3 separate regions of the Homo sapiens genome follow, and regions 2 and 3 are each linked to region 1. The links are contacts of gene promoters, found by promoter capture Hi-C in blood cells and fetal thymus (Javierre and others, 2016). All regions are on one chromosome and are shown on one strand. Each heading gives the region's core, a stretch centred on a gene start or on the middle of the fragment in contact. The rest is flanking DNA. Distances are from core to core; before and after follow the strand shown. Region 1 holds the start of DSG1 (desmoglein 1). Region 2 overlaps DSC3 (desmocollin 3). Region 3 overlaps DSC3 (desmocollin 3).

Region 1 (2,700 bases), core at 155-2,654:
TACAGTCTATTTTATTTGACATTTCTCATTAGAGAAAATCGGCCAGCTCATCTTTCTAAATTTTATTTATTTACATCTGCTATTTACAATCATAAACATTCTTATTCACTGCAAATAAACATGGGCAGCCTATCTCCTCCCCTCCACACTGTATGATGGATAATATGGAAATTCAAACCACACATCTTCTTTGCCACAAATCTGTAGTGAAATGACAGCCTTCTATAGACCCTCTGACCCTCAGAGATTTTCTTCCTTTTGGAGACATTTTGAGTATCTTTTTGACCATAATCAACATCTTATCAGGTAGGTCTCTTGTTCTAAGTAGCCGTTTCAAACTCTGAGGGTGTCCAGTGTCTATGAGCTTCCTGCCACTCACAATATTTATACTAGACGTTGCCAGGGGAAGAGAAGAGAGTCCAAAAATATGTCCAAATGCTGCCCTGTGAAGGTTGCTATTTATTTTCACAAACCTCAGGGCTGCATTCAGTTTCCCGTCTACCTGTGTAGGCAGCCATTTCTTCAGTGTATTCCCTATGTTCTAATTGGCTCGCTGTACAGATTCTTGGCTCTGTGCTTAGGAATTGTCATTGACTTTTAACCCACCTCACCTGCTGAGCAGCTTTCTGTGTTTTCATTAGTATTTCAGGCACCGAATCTCATTTTTAAAGTTATTATCAGGATTTTAATTGGTGGTTCTCACTATTCACCCTTAAGTTTAGTAATATTTAAATTTTTATTTTGTTGCATTTAATAAAAGAATCATAAAGAAAGAAAAATAATTAGGGAGAGAAAATAATTTCTTTAGAGGGAAAATGGAGGATTCCTTAGACTGAAGGCTGGTCAGTTAATGGGAATTGTGACTTATGCAGAGGATCTAATAATTGTAAGTATCATGGTTTTACTTGTTTGAATTAATAACTTTAAAAAATCTCAGTCTTGCATTAGCATATTTTCTGTCTCTTAACAACCGAAAATAACTGAAACTTTCCCAACATCTACTAAAATGGAAAGTTTGTCATTTTCTACTATGACCTGAGGGTTTGGCTACAAACAGATAATGGAATGAATAAGATGAGCATTCAAGTTATACCTGCCTGTTTAATATGGGGAGAAACTAAACCACCTGTAAAGAAAGCATGGGGTGAGAAGCCCCCATCACCTGTATAACCCTCGGTATTTCTGTTCACTTTAAGAGCCTGCCACTGAAAACATTCAGTAAAGGAGTGAATCTTCCTTGCCCCATCAAGAGTCGCTTTTCAGCTGGAGGAAGGGTGTGTCCCCAAGTTTTTACCTGGGAGCAATGATGATCTTGTCAAGCATTTCAGTGAGACCAGCCCAAGTTTTTAGGGTGGGGATCCAGACTGGTTATACGTACCTTCAGTCCTTCTCCCAGAGGAAGGCAGAAACACCTCAAAGCCTGCATGTAAGAACATCTACTGAGAAATTATTTTAATCAGACACCAGCTGAGTGGGAGAAAGAAAAAGAACAGAGAAGAACAAACAAAACTCCCTTGGTCTTGGATGTAAGAGAATCCAGCAGAGATGGACTGGAGTTTCTTCAGAGTAGTTGCAATGCTGTTCATTTTTCTGGTGAGTGGATTCTGGTAAAAGTCCTTCATAATCGTGCCCATTGTAAACAAGTGAAAACTTTTTAGAAAATGTTAGTGGGCATTATTTCTAACCTAAACCCATTGAAAATGTATATTAATGACAAGATGATTTTATGAACTAGATTTTTCAATAGCATTTCTCTCTTTAATTGAAGACTCAAGATCATGTTAATGCCTCAGTGTCAACTCATTGTATTACATCTCTGACACTGAAGTCATTGCTAAGTCATGCTGGGAAAAGACTGAATTTAGGAAATTCCTATCGCTAGTTAGTAGCACTTTGTCGTTCAAAATCTCTTCTGCAAGAGGGCTTTTAAACTAAATATCACAAGTGTGTCTGGATTTTTAACCTGTTTTTTTTTTTATTTTTTTTGTGTGTTTGGTGGTGGAATTACTCTAATTTTTAAAACATAAAAATAGCACCACATAATTTAAAATCGTAGCAGTTTGTGGCTGGTCTCGCTATCCAAATAAAGTCATCAGTTGCATATTTGGTTAGAATCTGTATCACTACTATAAAAAGCCCCGCACTATTTAACTATGATTTTATTTAAAACATTTTTAATTTCAAAAAACGGCAGTACAGGAGGTTTATAAATGACATATTAAGTGAAGAAGTGGCTATAATTAAAGAGTAAGTATAATTATTATTACACTCGATCTTACTACTGGAATGTCAGTGATGACTGCGATATAAAAGTTGTGCACTTGATCGTCTGACGAATGTAATGAAATACTTTATCATTGCCCCCTTACATGTAATTAGTTTTCTTGCTGTAGAGATAATACTAAGTGCACCACTAATGTATTATGTCAATTTCACTTTCAGTGAAAATTTGAAAATTGTAATCTCTCTCATAGTAAGGTTAATGTAATTCAAAAAGGCAGGTGCCAAGTAAATTGCCCTCCAGCTTGGCAGGATGTATAGTGCTGTGGTTCACATTTGTTTCTACTTGCTTAATTTTTGAACTGGAATGTTGGGTTGGTTGGTATAATAAGTTAGATCTTTGATTCAAAGTATGCTGGTTAGTTTGAATTCAGTTTTATTAACTAAGGCGGGACATAATCAGTGGATTTAGTTATAAAT
Region 2 (2,700 bases), core at 82-2,581, 310 kb before region 1:
TGACACAAACGGATGTGGAAGAGTCTGATGAGACCATTTTATCTAGTTTTAGATTTCAGTTTTATTTTTGTCCTCTAGCATAGAAATACATAAGAATTTAAGGTCCTGCCCTATTGGGGATATAAAGATAAATAAAACACGGCTTCTTGTCACCAAACAGTTTCACCTTGTTAGATAATTAAGAGAGACAGAAAGAGTCTTTAAAGTAATTTCAAAGAATTCCATACACTTACCACCAAAATAAATCTGCATAAGAATAATTACATTTTATTCTCTAATTCCTTTATAGAATACCAGATTAAAACTTTTTTTTTACCTTTGTCTATTGCCAGGACTGTAATATTATACAACTCATTTTTGGGAGTTTCAACCTCCCTATCCAGGATTTTGGAAGTTATGATTGACCCTGAAATTTCATCAATGGTGATCCAACCTTTAGGATCATGCAATTTTTTGTACCTGTTAATAAAAAAAAAATAGTCTTTAGCATCAGAAAATGTTTTCAAATAAGTTACTATCTCAATGATTACAAATACATTATTAGTATGTGGTTATAGATTTATTTTTACCTTAAACCATTGCCATTTCTATTTTCGGGGTCATATGCCTTATAGCCGTTGATCTTTGACCCCACTGCTAAGTTTTCTTTAATCCGCACATATTGGGCTGCAGGAGTGCATTCAGGCCCCTCATCCAGATCCCTCACATGAACTGTAACCAAGGCTCTGTTCAAGGCTGTCACTCTGGGAATATCTCTAGCAAATGGCGCTTCATTGTTTACTCCAATTTCCAGGTTCACTTGACGGTTTTCTTCATAATTCAGTGGCTTTAAAATAAAGTCCATGTATATCAGTGTCAGTGTAAAATACATCTGGCATTTCAAATGGCAAGTGAACATTTGTCATCCTGACCAGTGCTGCATAAATTCTATGTTCACATGTTGTTAATACTGACTTTTATCCCTTGCTAAACAGAGAGTGGATCCCGTGCTAAGCCTCTACCAAGAATGGTCCAACAACTTCTGCAGGTAGTTTCATAGAGTTGGACAAACGAAATTCCGGAAATATTTTCATATTTCACTCTTACTAAGGAAAATTACTCTGATTCAAAAAGTAATGCAAACAGATGACAGTATTCTTATGGTCCTGCTTGGAGCACTGTCTAACAGGCTGGGCTAACGGTCATCTGAGTATGGGAAGTTGCCTTTATTTGGCTTATCAGTTACTACTGACTATGGCCCAGGCATTTTATAACTCTTGTAAAGTTTGATGTTGACTTTCACAAAACCAAAAGGTGCAATGATTTCATTTTCTGTCTCATAGAAAAGATATCTCCAGTATTTTATTTTCTTTTATTTTATTTTTGAGACAGAGTCTTGCCTCATTCTGTCACCCAGGCTGGAGAGCAGTGGCGCAATCTTGGCTTACTGCAACCTCTGCCTCTTTGGTTCAAGCGATTCTCCTGCCTCAGCCTCCCATGTAGCTGGGACTACAGGCACGTGCCACCATAATCAGCTAATTTTTGTATTTTTTTCTTTAGTAAAGATGGGGTTCTGCCATCTTAGGCTGGTCTCGAACTCCTGAACTCAGGTGATCCACCTCCCTTGGCATCCCTAAATGCTGGGATTACAGGCGTGAACCACCATGCCCGGCCCCAAATGTGTGTTTTAATTGCCCTCTAAGGCATCTAACTGAGCCATCTAATTGCTGCTTTTCTTTTATCAAAATCCATCCAGAGTCTCATTTCTTCTTAGGAATCAACTTGTCTTTTTGCTGGTTCCTTCATGAATGAGTTAAAACCTTTATCCATCCATGCCCACTACCTGTTTTTATGAAAATTACATTTTTGAAAACTTGAGAATTATACTTTGGCATTGTCTATAATTTATCCAATGAAACATTCACAGTGGATACACAGAGGAGTAAGGGAAATACTATGTGATTGATTTTAATTATCATTGAATCTAAGGCACTACTCTAACAGTGAAAATAAACTCACTAAATCCTCATGACATTATGAAGTAAGTATTATTGACCTCATCCTCATTTTACAGAGCAGAAAACGGGAAAAGGAGATAAACTGATTTTTTTTTAAGACCAAAAGATAATCATTTGAGCTTGAATTTGAAGCCAGGTAGTCTGACCTGAGTCCATTTCCTTAGCCTACGCTATAATCCCTCTGCTATCGTGTGCTGCTTAATTGGCTCACTGATCTCTAAAAAATTTCCAAATCAATCTTTGACTAAAATTCAGTTTTAGATAACAAATCAAGTAAAACCCATAAAACATTATGTTACACTGTACTATAAAGTTGAAGCACTTTTTCTTCAATTTCTCTTTCTGCTTATCAAAACAATCACTGGCTAAACATTGAACAAAATCAAAACTGGTGAATAAAATTATTTTAAATCTTTCTCCACACCTAGGTATTAACAGAGTAAGACATTAGTATCACGAGTCCACTAAAAAGTCAAGAAAGTTTCTGAATCTTAGAATCTACAAAACATATGTAAAACCTTTTTTTATTTTGTATGTATATCCCACAAACTGGAGAGTCAAGGAAAAAAATATTAATATCTGTTCGTTTGATGCTGATGAATACTGTTTCACACATTTCATGTGCTGGTGTGATCACACAGAGAGTAAGAGCAACTGCTGGCAATGAGAAATGGATGGAAATTTAGAGAACAGCTGCTGCACT
Region 3 (2,700 bases), core at 66-2,565, 330 kb before region 1:
ATTTGTATTGCACAATGCACATTTACCTTAAGGTATTCGGAAAATAAAACAATAAAATCAATATAAATTATGTGAGAATTCAGTAGCAAAATACTCAGACCCCTTGTGGAATCATATTGCATCTATTAGTTTGAGCCAATAAAAAACACTGGTTTATAGTGTTCATAGTGCGTATATTCCTCCCACTATGGTTGCATTGTGCATGGGAGGCAGAGAAATATTCTTGAACGGCTAAGTAGCAGCTGTAGCTTTCTTCAAATTGGTTTCTGAAGATCCTTTTCTCTTTGAAGTTGTCTTTAGTAACAGTCCTGGCACTGTCAATGAGTCTGTCCAGCCCCAAGTGTCTATTCCTGTTTGTTCATGGGCGTGGGAGAGGTCTGAGTCACTGAAGGGTGTGTCCCCCACTTTCTTGTAGATACTTGAAAAGGAGCCATGCACACTGGTGCCCAGAGGCAAAGGCAGAACACCTGGAGGACTCACGTGGAACTTACGTAACCCACCCCCTCCAAAAAAAAAAAACGAAAAGTGCAAACCAGTTTATCTCAAAAGGAAATGTTTCTTGCCTCTCTTTCATTAATTTCCAGTTGTTTTTTTTGTTTGACTAGTGGCTAAGAATCTCAGTTCACTTCTCCTATGTTCCAGAAATTAACTTCTCTTATTTTTCTGTTGGTCAGTTTCTATTTAGAGTCCTAACTGAACCAAAGTAGTAGAGATAAATCTCAGTCTTTTGGGATTTTTTCACCCCAATGTTTCTGAGGCTGAGTGTAAATTTTGCCTACTCCTGTGGGGTAGTAAGAGTTCTGGGTATGACCATCTGGTGTTTGGTCATAAACTTGCACAGGTGGTCACTGAGGCAGCTCTTACTCCAGTCATGGTCACCTGGGAGTTTCAGACCAGGAGTTTCCATGTTAATTTTATGGTTTACTTACATAGTAGCTAAGAAGCACTGAGAGGCAAAGTTGCTTAAATGGGATGGGAGCTGGGCAATAAGAACAAATCAAACACCAGAAAAGAAAAAAAAGTGTTACAGAATGTTTGTGTGTATTACAATCTCATGCTTTTGGGGAGAAAAACTAATTTCTTCCCCATCTTCCCAGGTGCCCATACTAAATCCTGTGGTCTGTCTGTTCTCTGGAAGGTAAAATGTTGCGCAGCCAACAGACAGGGACAGAAGCTCCTGGGGAGGGTCTCTTGAAACTCAACAAAGCACAGTCTGGGAGAAAGAACATCTTATATAGAGGCAAATGTGATCATTTTTAAGTAGATTTGATGCTGCTACTTTTTTGGTGAATTTATTTTAGAGCAGAGGCTAGTATTTTAGTGCAAGCCACTCTCAATCATGAATATAAAAAGTCTAGGCAAGGACTCCCTAAAGATGTTCAGTGGTGTTACGCAGAACGTGTTCTGGCACAGGAATGTAGCATGTTATTTTCAGCAGACATTACCCTCCAGAATGGATTCTATTTTAGACAGCATGCTGACTAACGCATAGAGCAGTTTGACAGAAACATGGATCCATTTAGACAGTTCAGATCTGAACAACAACAGATTTTCAACTCGTTTCAAATTTTTAGAAGGTTTTACCCTTTTGAGTATAGTAGAATTATGCTTGGATTTATAAATTTTTATCCAGAAGGTATTTTCCAGCTTAAATAAAATTAAACAATTTTAATTTTTCCAAAGCAAAGTTAAACTAATTTTTAAAATTATTTCATTAAAATTATTTTAATAGGAATTACTTTCTGCTTATATTTTACAATAAAAATTGAATCATTTGATTAATTGGCCCCTTATATAAAATTAAACCATTTATAGTATTTGCATTGTCAGTTTTCTTTGTGACCATTTATGCTAGCCAATTTTTATAGCTGTAAATTTTTGCCAAGAAGATATGATGCTTCCACAGATAACAAGTATTTGTACATACTGTTATACTTATTATCAGATCTATTTTTGCTTTATCTCATTTGATGTTCCTTTTAAAAATACTCATTTTGAATTTGATAGAAGACTGATAATCATATTTGTTTCTGAGTAAAGCCTGAACAAGTCCTTTCAGATATTCTAGGATTTCATTCCCAAGTAAAGGGATGCATGAAAAGTCCTCATTTCAGTGAAAGAAGCCAGACACACAAGGCCACATATGTACGATTTCATTTATATGAATGTCCAGAGTAGGCAAATCCATAGAGACAGAAAAGATATCAGTGGTTGCCAGGGGATAATGCAGGGAGGGGAAGAGGAGAATGACTGCTTAAAAGGTTTCCTCTTGGGGTGATGAAAATGTTCCAGAACTAGATAGTGGTAACAGTTTCACAACATTTTAAATGTACTAAAGTCACTGAATTATACACTTTAAAATGGTGAAAATGATGAATTTTAACCATTCATAGCCATGTTTTATGAATTTTACCATTTTTTAAGTAAAGGGAAAAGAAGGTTCTGAGATTCAAACCTTTGCAATCAAAATAAACTGTCGAATACAGAAGCCCGTAAACATGTTCTGAATACTATTTAATTTTTCTGCCCATGAAACCAAGCCTAATTCTAAATAATATAAGAGCCAAAATAAACTGTCTAAGCTGGTATTAACCTTTTTCTTAAATTAAAAATGTTATCAGGTTGATAGGTGCAGCAAACCACCATGGGACACGTTTACCTATGTAACAAACCTGCACATCCTGCACGTGTATCCTGGAA

What was found. The method cuts DNA at HindIII sites, captures the fragments that hold promoters and counts their contacts. A CHiCAGO score of 5 or more calls a contact.
Region 2: a fragment that was not itself captured here is called in contact with the fragment with the promoter of DSG1 in region 1 in 1 of 17 cell types (monocytes); the score reaches 5.1 in monocytes.
Region 3: a contact is called between a fragment that was not itself captured here and the fragment with the promoter of DSG1 in region 1, in 1 of 17 cell types (monocytes). The highest score is 5.4, in monocytes.

Annotation. Positions count from the first base shown.
Region 1 is chr18:31,316,756-31,319,455 of GRCh38, forward strand. It overlaps DSG1 (desmoglein 1), which reads left to right and starts at 1,405. Exons shown (of 15, transcript NM_001942.4): 1 at 1,405-1,593. The coding sequence starts at 1,546. The HindIII fragment of the contact is 11,545 bases long and covers 1-2,700 here.
Region 2 is chr18:31,007,700-31,010,399 of GRCh38, forward strand. It overlaps DSC3 (desmocollin 3), which reads right to left. Exons shown (of 16, transcript NM_001941.5): 10 at 570-826; 11 at 317-459. Among named protein-coding and RNA genes, the nearest start is that of DSC3, 34 kb to the right of the region's middle. The HindIII fragment of the contact is 4,708 bases long and covers 1-2,700 here.
Region 3 is chr18:30,987,223-30,989,922 of GRCh38, forward strand. DSC3 (desmocollin 3) reads right to left here. Exons shown (of 16, transcript NM_001941.5): 16 at 2,143-2,700. Among named protein-coding and RNA genes, the nearest start is that of DSC3, 54 kb to the right of the region's middle. The HindIII fragment of the contact is 5,568 bases long and covers 1-2,700 here.